Regions from separate parts of the Homo sapiens genome. Here region 2 is linked to region 1. Evidence: promoter capture Hi-C in 16 types of primary human blood cells and fetal thymus (Javierre and others, 2016). All regions are on one chromosome and are shown on one strand. The core of a region is centred on a gene start or on the middle of the fragment in contact, and the rest is flanking DNA. Distances in the headings are between cores, read along the strand shown. Region 1 holds the start of KCMF1 (potassium channel modulatory factor 1). Region 2 overlaps TCF7L1 (transcription factor 7 like 1).

The links. Contacts are between HindIII fragments. The CHiCAGO score rates a contact against its expected background, and 5 or more counts as called.
Region 2: a fragment that was not itself captured here is called in contact with the fragment with the promoter of KCMF1 in region 1 in 2 of 17 cell types (M1 macrophages and M0 macrophages); the score reaches 7.1 in M1 macrophages.

What each region holds. Positions count from the first base shown.
Region 1 is chr2:84,967,930-84,973,671 of GRCh38, reverse strand. KCMF1 (potassium channel modulatory factor 1) reads right to left here and starts at 2,511. Exons shown (of 7, transcript NM_020122.5): 1 at 2,205-2,511. The coding sequence starts at 2,220. RefSeq lists silencers at 1,637-2,726, 2,757-3,006 and an enhancer at 3,505-3,584. The HindIII fragment of the contact is 10,310 bases long and covers 1-5,742 here.
Region 2 is chr2:85,275,675-85,281,416 of GRCh38, reverse strand. All of the region lies in intron 3 of TCF7L1 (transcription factor 7 like 1), which reads right to left. Among named protein-coding and RNA genes, the nearest start is that of TGOLN2, 49 kb to the left of the region's middle. The HindIII fragment of the contact is 3,109 bases long and covers 519-3,627 here.

The DNA.
Region 1 (5,742 bases), core at 1,262-3,761:
AGTCTGAACTAATATTCCACAAAATATGTATCTAATGAGTTAAATGTGATTCGTGAGACTGCTATTCCTGTCTTAGGCCATAAACTAGACCCTTGAAAGAGAATCACTTGTCGAATATTGTACTATAAGTCTTCAACAGATGTATTTAGGTATGTTCCTTTTTCATTAGGTATGTTCTATTTACTGACATTAACATAAGTTACTAGGAAAGGTGTGCTACTAGTGTGCTGAGGTTCAGCAATATTCAAGTAACTAAAAGGTAATATAAGTTTCATAACCACACACCTTTGCACAGCACCAAATGGGGGGAAATGGGCTTAAATTACAGAATATATGTTACATTCAAGAATGTTCCAAATATGAGATTTTAATTACTCTAACAGAGCACTGGGGGTGAAGGAATTTTCTTCCCAGGACACTTCAATTAGAATGCTCGTCTGGAACTATCTGTATGCTTTCTTAGACCAAGGAGAATGGGTCTGAAACACTCTTCCATGGCTGTGATTCTCTAACTAACCCTCCCAGTTTTCAAGAGTAAGAGAGCTTGCAGCCATTGCTCACTTTTGTTTTGTCTTGAAGGTGGTCAATGTACACAGGACTACAGTTTAAGATAAACTTTAATATCCCAAATTGAAAACTGATTATAACTTTAATTACGAGTTCTTAAAATTACAGAGATAAGGATACATTTCGATTAAGCAGACGAAGTGGGGAAAAGAGGCATAGCTTCCTACTTCTGTGTCCCTTTCAATGAGGCTAGGTACCTCATTATTTCAAAATGCCCAACACTTGAACACTGTAAGTACTCAACAAATGCTTTGCGAAGAAAATATAGTATATTTCATATTAGTTTTGTAACTTTTAAAATACAGAATCGTTGAACACAGAATGTTGAGTCAATTTCAACGTCGCAATTAGTAATGCGAATTTTGAAACTTGTTCTAAATACAATTTTAATCAATCTGAGTTTTTCAGCCTTGAAATTCTAAGGTCCGTATTTCCCAAAGAATATCCTTCCCATAGTGCTAAGCACACACTAAACTGACTCACTAAACTTTCTCCACTCCTACATCACCTATACAGGATTTTAAAATCCGGAGTACACAAACTTTCAAGCCACTTCTACAATCTTGTATTAACCTTAGCAGGACAAACTTTTCGCCAAGACTCTTAACACTTTTTATCCAAAAACCTGTAGTAGTGAAACAAAGAAAACACAACCCCCTCCTCCTTTTCTAAACCATATGGCAATAAATTAAAGTTAACTTATTTCTTACCAGCTCAAAGCCTATACATCGACCCTAAACATTTGTCTCTTTGTGCCCTGGGACTGGGCTTAGAGCTGTCTGCTTATTTGCAACTGTACTCCAATCGTGTTTTAAAATGGCAAAACAAGGTCCAAAACGACCCCCGACCATGAACAGACCTCACCATCGTCATTTTCCAAAACCTGGTCTGGTAGGCAGCACATGCCGGCGAGGGCACCAGGGCCGCGGGGAGCGAGCCCTGCTCCGCCTGGGTGACTGAGCAGGGAGTTTGCTTGCTGCGGCGGGGTCGGATCCACCCCGGGAACTTGGTTACCCGAGCCCAGGGACGCGCCGAGGCCTAGCCGCGAGGCCGGGGCGGGCTCCAGGCGGCGAGGGCTTCCCGTCCCTTGGCCGCAGAGCCTTCCCGCCAGCCCCGCGGTCGCCCGCAGGCGGGGACACTCGCCGTCGTCTCCCGGCGACCGGACGCGCCTGCCGGGTCCCGGGCCGGCTCTTTTGCCTCCTGCTGCCGCCCGCGGCCCGGCTCTGCGACCACACCGGGCTCTTCCGGGGCGGCGGGAGCGCTAGGCCGCGCTGGGGCCCGCGGCTCCTGAACCGGCCGGGCGGGCCTTGGCGTCCGGTATCAGTCCCGAAGGCCGAGCTCCCGCCGGTAACGGGCCCCGCCGCCTCCCCTCCCCCTCCGCCCCATGACAGTGCAAACCCTCCGGCCGCCCGGGCCGCCCCGCCTCCAGCACCAGGCCCAGCTAAGGGCCGCGGCCGTGGCGGCAGCGGCGCCGCGGCTCTCCGCCCTCGCTCGCTCGCTCCCGGGTCCAGCGCCTCGGGCCCGGCTCGGGCTCGGCCAAAGTCTCCGCCGCTTCCCGGCCGCCCTCCGCCGCGCCCGGCCCGGGCGGGGTAGGCCGAGGCCCGGGAGGTGCGGGTGGGGGCGGGGGCTCCTCTCACCTTCATGTCGGGACATCCTAGTTCAGACGGTGGCGGCGCGGCCCCTCCCGGGCTCCGGCTGCAGTGTCCCCCGCGGGGTCCCGGCGCTGCCCGCGCCGGCCGGCCGACTCCCACTCGACTCCCGGGCTCGGCCGCGGGGGCGGGGTGGGCAGGGGAGCGCTCCCGCGGCGGCGGCGGCGGCGGCGGCGGGGAGGCGGCGCGGGGCGGGAATGGGGCCGGGCCTGGTCGGGGCTGAGCTCCTCCAGGAGGCGGGTCCGACGCCGCAGCTCCGCCGGCGCCCGCCGTGACTCCGGTCACTCTCGGGCCTGCCGGCTCCCGGCAGCGGCGCGGCGCTCCGCAAATCCCGCTCCTCCCCTCCCCCGGCCCACCCCCCGCCCCTCTCCCCCGGCTCCCGGCCGCCGCCTCCTCCTCCTCCTCTTCCTCCTCCTCCGCCTCCTTCCGCCGCCCGCACGCCAGCCCCGCCTCTCGCTGCCCTCGCCGGGCCCAGCCGCCCGGAGGCCCCGCGGCCGGCGGTCGCGACGGGGGCGACGCGGCGACGGCGGCTCGGGGCGCGGCGCTTGCCCGCGCTAGCCAGCAGGCCGCGATCGGGCGCCCGTGCCCAGCCTCGGCCTGGCCGCCGCCGCCGCCGCCGCGCCGCGCGTAGGGAGGAAGAGGAAATGCCCGGCGCCGGCTCCCGCTGCTCACCGGCGCGGCCCGAGGGGCGCCCGCCCGCCACGCCGCCCCTAGCCCCGCCTGGGGCGGGCCTAGGCCGGGCTATAGGGGCCAGGGCCTTGGGCTGCGCCGGCCGCGGGAGGTGGGTGCTTCTCGGCGGCGAGCTGCGACTCGGAGAGACTCCTGTCCGCAGGTGCATGGCTTCCGGGCGGGCCTCGGGCAGCGAGCTCCAGCCCCACTGAGAGGCCGCGGACCGCCTGGGGACTTGTGTTTGTGTGTATTTTAAGCCAACAGCCCAGAAAGGGAAGGCGACTGGCCCCCGGTCTTCGCCAGTGTTTCCCGGCCGGGTTACTGGTGGTCAGGAGGGAAGCCAGGAGGCTGCCGGGCTCCGAGGCCGATTCCTTGCGAACCATCTCCGTTAAAGACTCCGCGCCGGGCAGCCCGGGAGTCCGGCGGTACCCGCGCAAACTTTGTCCCAGCGCCTTGGCTCACCGTGAATGCCCTGCCTTGAAAATTTGGAGTTTTTTGTTTCCTGAAAGTGGTCTGCTTTTCCGATTTTATCTGTGTTTTCCATTTTTACCTTCTTATTGTCAATTTGTTTTCAGGCATTATTAATTCAACAAATCTTTGTACTGCCCCTTACCACGTGTCGATGGTTCCGTGGTTTGGTGGAAATAGATCGCGCTTTGAAGTCAAGACGGATCGGCCATGGAATTTTGGCTCTGAGATCCTCTGTGTAACCGTGGATGAGCTACAAGGCCTGCTGAGCCTCCATTTGTCTGGTTTTTGTGGTTGTTTTAATTTATCTTTTTCCATTTGAAGTTGTGGGTTTTGCATAAAATTGAACTGTTACCAGGCTAAGTCAACTGAAATTGGAATCTGGGGTACTGCTTGCTTTGAGGTTACTCTTATACTGTCCACCATTTGCTGGCTGTGTGATCTCTAAACCTCTCTGTGCCCTGACTTTTCTATCTTTAAAATGGACGTAACAACAGAGGTTTAATAATAAGAGGTTTGGAGGTTAAGTGCTAAAATGCATATAAAATACCTAGCACAGGACACAGTAAAAAGATTGTTACCGTATTTCATTGAATCTGGTTTTAAGACACTTCCTGATTTCAAAGAAACTAAAAGCTCATCTTGAAGTCCAGGAAGTAGGTTTTGGGTCACTCAGAACTCCCAAGGGACTGTATTTGGTAGTAACTAGTGATAAACAAACTGGAGTTTAAATGAGGACTTTGTCACCAGAGATATTTTTATTGCCTGTATGGAGCTCCTGCACAAATTTATTCCATTTCTCTTGTAGAAAGAGATCCAACCTGGCCGTAAATGGGGTGTGGTGGAGTAGAAAGAAGGGTATTAAGTAAAGCTCTGTGTCGATGCCTTTCTGAGCATTTTACGGTGTTGGCATATGTGATCCTGGGTATCAGGAGCCTCAATTTCTTGGGCTGTAAAAATGGGGAGAACAACGCTGATCCCATTGTCTCCTGATGGGTAAGTGATGTCTATAAATAAATTGTATAGAGATTAAGGCATTATCAGTGCTGTAGTCTGATAAAATGGTGGAGCAGATAGGAAAGCCTACAACAGTACTGAACTGCAGGAGGGACTAAGAGTAAATATAGAGATTTCATTTGCTTGGTTTTGCAGAGGGTTAGCTAACTAAACAGATAACTTTGTTTTCGACAGTTACTTCATTTTTTTCAGTCAGGCAAGAGTAAGGAGAGAGTAACTAAACCATTTTTTTTCCTCTTTAAATAAGAGTAAGCAGAAATATTATGGTTATTTGGGGTTTTCATGACCTTCATTCACTTAGCGGTCAGGCTGTTCAATTTAAAACAACCTTTTGCTTGCTGCCCTGCCATATGGGAAATTTCATTTCCAAAAAAAGGATTAATTTCCAGCCTGGGCGAAACCCTATCTCTACGGAAAATATAAAAATTAGCGGCCAGGAGCAGTGGCTCATACCTGTAATCCCAGCACTTTGGGAGGCCGAGGCAGGTGGATCACGAGGTCAGGAGTTCAAGATCAGCCTGGCCAAGATGGTGAAACCCCATCTCTACTAAAAATACAAAAATTAGCCTGATGTGGTGGCACGCGCCTGTAATCCCAGCTACTTGGGAGGCTGAGGCAGAGAACTGCTTGAACCTGGGAGCATTCCAGCCTGGATGACAGAGTGAGACTCCGTCTCAAAAAAAAAAAAAAAATTAGCTGGGCGTGGTGGCATCCGCCTTTGGTCCCAAATACTCAGGAGGCTGAGGTGGGAGGATTGCTTGAGCCCAGGAGGTCGAGTCTGCAGTGAGCCGTGATTGTACCACCACATCCTAGTCTGAGTGACAGTGTGACACTCTGTCTCAAAAAAGAAAAGAAGATCAAGAAGGATTAATTTAAATCCTTATACCAAATTGTCTACCAAATGATTTTTGTTCCACTCCAGAAATGTTTTCCTCCAGTCCCTTCCTCTCTCTGCACCCTCCTGAGTTCTCCTTTCTTCTGTGGACAACTGTAACTAATGCGTGTTTTTGCTAGGCTGACCCTTCTTTCATACTATGGCCCAATTATGTTTTTTCAAATAAGCTAATGGATGTAAGCACTGGTGAAATCTGAATAAGGTCTGTAGTCTACTTGATAGTATTGTACCAATGTCAGTTTCCTGGCTTTTGATATTTTTCCATAGCTTTGTAAGATGTTCCCATTTGAGAAAGTGTACCTGGGCCCTCTTTGCAACTACCTATGGGTAAATGATTATTTCAAAGTAAAAAATTAAAGTATAGGGACAGAAATTAGATCAATGGTTACTGGCAACTGGAGCTGGGGAAGGGTGGACTGATCACACTTTTTGAGATGATGAGAATATTCTCTAACTTGATTGTGGTATTTACATTAC
Region 2 (5,742 bases), core at 824-3,323, 310 kb before region 1:
CAAAGCATTTTCACACACAAAACCCAGTGTAATCTGCACATCAACCCTGCAATGACAAGTAGGGGTGACTATCCCAAATTTTAAAAGGAGCTAGGCCGGGCGCAGTGGCTATGCCTGTAATCCCAGCACTTTGGGAGGCCAAGGTGGGCAAATCATTCGAGGTCAAGAGTTCAAGACCAGCCTGGCCAACATGGTGAAACCCCGTCTCTTACTAAAAATACAAAAATTAGCTGGGCATGGTGGCGTGTGCCTGTAGTCCCACCTTCTTGGGAGGCTGAGGCAGAAGAATCACTTGAACCCAGGAGGCGGAGGTTGCAGTGAACCGAGATCACACCACTGCACTCCAGCCTGGGTGACAGAGTGAGACCTTGTCTCAAAAAAAAAAAAAAAAAAAAAGGAGCTAATGGACATAAACAAAGGCTAAACGCTTCCCCAACTTCATACAAGACAGCTGGAGCTGGAGCCTAGGTCTCTGGACTTCAAATCCCACACCTTGCACAAGACCAAGTCACGAAGCTTTTCCTAAGACTGTCTTCCTCAACTCTCCACCCGCAGCCTTCTCTTTGCTCGGATGTGTTTTCTCTCTCCTTCTCTGTCTTGCACGGGGCTGGCCACCCAGAAACAGAATGGGTCCATGCATGTCAGTGTTCTCCTGGAGGGATGCTGAAGGTGCCCAGAGCTTGCACTTGAAGCCTAAACACCACACTCGTTTTTCTAGAAGCAACAACTTGAACATTTCTGGTTTTAAAAATTAAACTACAATAACAACTACCAGGTGCTAAAGAGAAGTATCCCAAATCTATACCCCCTAATATTAAACAGGATAGATGGGTACCTAAAAATCCATCAACTCTACCAGCATCTGCCCCCTATTTAGGGCCACAAAGACACACATTCATTCTTGTTGGCTTACCAGGGATGTCCTTAGATCATATGGGGGTGGTCCAAAGAAATGTAAACCCTAGTCTGGGATGGTGCTAGAGTTTTGGGTCTTAAATAATCCTCTCAAGTGACCTTATAGATTGTCTGGCAGAGTCGGCTTGTAGGACTGTAGTGCAGGGTTTCTCAGGCTCAGCACTATGACATTTTGGGCTGGATACTTTTTTTATTGGGGGTGGTGGGCTGTCCTGGAAAGTTTAACAACATCTTTGGCCTCTAACTATAATACTAAATGCCGATGCACTCCCATATAGATCATCAGAAATATCTCCAGATTTTGCCAAATGTCTCCTGGGGCTGAGGGAGAGAATCTTCCCTCCCGCAACTGAGAATCACTGCTCTAGTGGCCAAGGAGCTGGCACCCAATAGACTGCAAGCTCCATGAGGGTTTGTCTGCCTTGGTGCTGGGGATATCAAGGTACAGGTACATTTATGTATGCTTGTATTTTGTACACACATTCATAGTAAGGGTTTTCAGTAACAGCCACTCTTTTGGGTGTCTGACCATGTACTTGTTTTATCTATGTAACAAGAAGTCTTGGCTTCTGCTGGGAGGAGACCACACTGGTCGTGCCTACCACTGATACCTGGCCCCTTACAGACAAGTCAGGCAGTGTGAGGGAAAAGACCAGAAGGGAGAGGTGGTCCTGGGAACAGTGAGCATCTCACCGGGACTGACCCTGCTCCAGCCATGCCTGGGGTGGTGCAGGGGCGGTGTGTAGGGAGGGACTCACTCTGGGAGGCAGGAGTGTGGAGGATCGTGACTTTCCCTTTTCTATTTGTCTTTTTAAGTTTTGGAGATGAGTGACGGGGGGAGGAGGAAGAGCTCTAAGACTTTGGAGCCCCTACAGCTTGGCCATGGACGGCCTCTGCATCACAACTCTGAGGAAAGGACAGTTGAACTTCCCAGAACCGTGAATTGGGGCAGCAGGAGCCAGTGACAACCCTTGTAATCCTCTTCCACTGCAGTACTAGACATTTGAAGATGGCCAGGTAGTTCTGAATTCCTAGCATCAGGCCTAGCCCAACTAGAGTGGAAATAAAGTGCTTCTGTTTATTTATTTATTTTTATTTTTTATTTTTAGAGATGGGGGTCTTGCTACGTTGCCCAGGCTCGTCTTCAACGCCTGGGCTCAAGCAATCCTCCCGCCTTGCTCTCGCAAAGTGCTGGGATTACAGGTGTGAGCCACCATGCCCAGCCAATAAAGCTCTTCTTAGCTGTAAGGCCAACCCCACGATCACCCTGAGGGCAATCACTCATGGGTGGGAGCATGTCCTTGGGGAAGTAAGTGATGGCTGACTGTGCTTAGATTCTTTGCATGGTAATGGTATGTGGGCAGGTTAAAACTGCTGGTTTCTCCATGCCCAGTCTAGGCTACATTTAACTGGCTCTGCAAGGCCCAGCTCCTGACCAGTGTGTCGTGGCTGGGCTTCAGCCCACAGCGAAGATGTGTACACGGGCTGGTCCAGCCACCTCCCTCCTGGGGGATGCCCACCGGAATGTAACACATTGAAATGGTGATGAATGGCATCAATGCAACTGATGGCCTGGCAATAGCGATCGCTCCCACTTCTGGGGTGCTTTCTATGGGTTAAATACCCGCTTTTGGATGCTCAAAAATAGAAAGGAAAACACCAAACCCAAACGGCAGGTACTACTGTCTTCGATTTACATATGTTGTGACTATCTAAGACAGGACAGATACACAGTTTTCCAATCTCACTGAATCTGAGAAACACTTTTCTGGGGACTGGGGTTCTGCTACTGTGGTTCACAGTTAAGTAGACTGAGGCTGTGGTTTAAAACATGTCTTTACCTCATTAAGGAAGGATGATTCTAATCCTATTTTTACATTGTTTTCATTGGAGCAGTTGTTGCATTTTTCTCTCGGCATTTACCAAAATGGTCATGTGGTTTCTCTTATTTGACTCATTTATGAGATGTATATATAGCAATAGATTTTCTTACATGAAGGCATTTTTGCATTTCCCAGGTAAGCCCTATTTGGTCATGGTGGTTTGTTCCTTCTTACGCTGTATTGTGGAATGCTAGTCATGTTTTAAATTTTTGACTTTTACATTCCTAAGTAAAGGTGAACAAAGTTTTCTTTTCTTTGGGTGACATCTTTATCGAGTGTTGCCATCAGTGTCCTTGTGGCTTTATTATTCAGAGGGGCTCTGCTCCTCTCTTTCTCAATGTTTTGGGCCCCTCCTTAGAGCCCTCCTTGGGGCGAGCACTTGGCCAGGCGGGCTGTTTCTGCTCAACGTGGATCTCGGGAAGGGTCCCTCTGAAGGATGCTGTCACTAGAGAGCTAGAGCCCCCTTTCCTGCAGGAAGGCGGAGAATCCATCCTACAGAATCCTTGCTTTGATTGGAGCCATGGAGCAGATTAATTGCAGCTGTGCCCTGGAATTTCCCCAACACACAAATCTTCGTGATGTAAAACAGCTGGGAGGAAATCCCAGCATGCCCTGTACAGAGGCAGGACTGCCAATGAGCTACGGAGATTAACCCTCCGGCTCCCAGAAGGTAGGGAGGGCCCCGCCCCAGCCGTCCTCACCCTGTCCCACACTTGCTTAGTGTGGACAGGACTCTACAGGGCTCGGGGGAATGCCCACATTCTCCCTGTTCGCACGTTCTCACAGAAAAGCCTTTAAGCAGGGCCTGGGCAACAGAGGAAACAAAGCTTCATGTTACAGAATCCACAGCTCCCCACAGTTGCATGCAAGGAAAACAAGTCAGCTCCAAAAACTGCACAGGTGAGAAAACTCCAGCCCAGAGAACGCCTTCCGCTGCTTCTAGAGGAAAGGCCCAGTAGGCAGAGAAAGCGCCCCTTGCTCCAGCCCCATGGTCTCGCCCATTTTTGGCCACTTGCCCATCAGCAGACACAAAGGGTCCCAGTTTTGGTGACCGGTCCTTCCTGCCTCTCTGGACCCCTATGGTAAACAGTGACTTTGGGGACCTAGAGCCAGGATCCCCTTTGATAGAGAAGCAAGGGTTGCCCAGGCTTTTCGGGAGATGTAAAGTCCCAGTGCCACCCAGAACCCAAGGCTACACCCAAACTCCGGGTGCAGGTGGCTTCCCACCACAGTGACAATAACATTATTCAAAATGCTCTCCTTGTCCTCTTAGAAACTCTATGTAACAGGAACCTATACTATAACCGTACTATAAATGAAAAATGTGAAGAAGCGATCCGTGTCTCCCCGTCTCCATTCTGCCACAGTTGCAGTCGTTTCTTGCCTGGACTACTGCAAATCCTACCAGAGTCAGCCTTCTAAACACCAGTCACATCTCTCCCCTGCTCAGAACACTTCCCTGGTTGGTTTCTGGGGTCAAGAGATAAAGCCCCCAAACTCACCAGCAATCCCACACCACCCTATCCTTCTGGCTTCCACCCTCACCGCCCCCCACCCCAGCTGCACAGAGTCCTCACTGCACTCTGAACGCACCATGCTGCCCTGCTGCTCCCCGGCCTGCTACGGCCTTTACTGCATCCTTCACTCGTGGGAAACTTTAACCCCTCTTCTTCAAAACCCATTTCCTCCCAAGGTCACCCTCCCTGGCATGAAGCCTCCATGAGTCTGTCGCTCTCGAGAAGCGGTACACGGTGTTTCCATAGCACTCACCAGGCTACTCCTCCCCATTTGCACACTCTGTCTGCCCTTGGGACGGTAAGCTCCTCAAGGGTCATGCTGCACCTCAATTCCTCACCCAGAACCCGGCAATCATGATGTGTTGAAACCCTGTCCCATGCTGTATTAATGCCGTGAGCTTAGGCCCAGTTTCCACATCTGTAACGAGGGGTTGAACAGCCTCTGCCTGAAGCCTTTAGAGCAGGGGAGAGATGTGACTGGTGTTTAGAAGGCTGACTCTGGTAGGATTTGCCGTAGTCCAGGAAAGAAACGACTGCAACTGTGGCAGAATGGAGACGGGGAGACACGGATCGCTTCTTCACATTTTTCATTTATAATACGGTTATAGTATAGGTTCCTGTTACATAGAGCTTCTAAGAGGACAAGGAGAGCATTTTGAATAATGTCATTGTCACTGTGGTGGGAAGCCGCCACACAGGAGCCCATTTCACTCATGGGCAACGCCTGCTTCTCACAGTAACTGGCTTAGTCTGCCGAGAATACGTAAATGTAGCATGGAGGCTGGGATGCCCAACTTGGCCAGTTCTTGGAGACCTGTTTCTATCTTCTGTACTAAAGTTCACAAATGGATCTAAGTTTGAAAATACACTGACACTGAGCAATGAACTCAGGAATAGGGAGACAGAAAAGCTTTCCCAATTGGGAAAACATTTTTAGTTTTCAGCAGTCGGTAAGAGAAAACGAAAGTGTAAAGAACTTGTTCCCAAACAAGATGGATTAGACAAAGAGTTCCAGGGGCAAAAGTATAAAAGAAGTTTTACACTCTTATCCCTTCTTTCTTAAGAATGAGTCATTTATGCCTTTGCTTAACTTTGTGGATGGCACTAAATCCCAAACACATTTTTTGTTTTACCTGAGGGTAGGTTAGATTCTTTCTTGAGGTATTTTTTTTTTTTTTTTTTGAGATGGAGTCTCACTCTGTCGTCCAGGCTGGAGTGCAGTGGCGCAATCATAGATCACTGCAACCTCCACCTCCTGGGCTCAGGCAATCCTCCCATCTCAGCCTCTCAAGTAGCTGGGACCACAGGCATGTGCCACCATGCCTGGCTAATTTATTGTAGTTTTGGTAGAGACAGGATTTCACCATGTTGCCCTGGCTGGTCTCGAACTCCTGAGCTCAAGTGATCTGCCCGCCTTCACCTCCCAA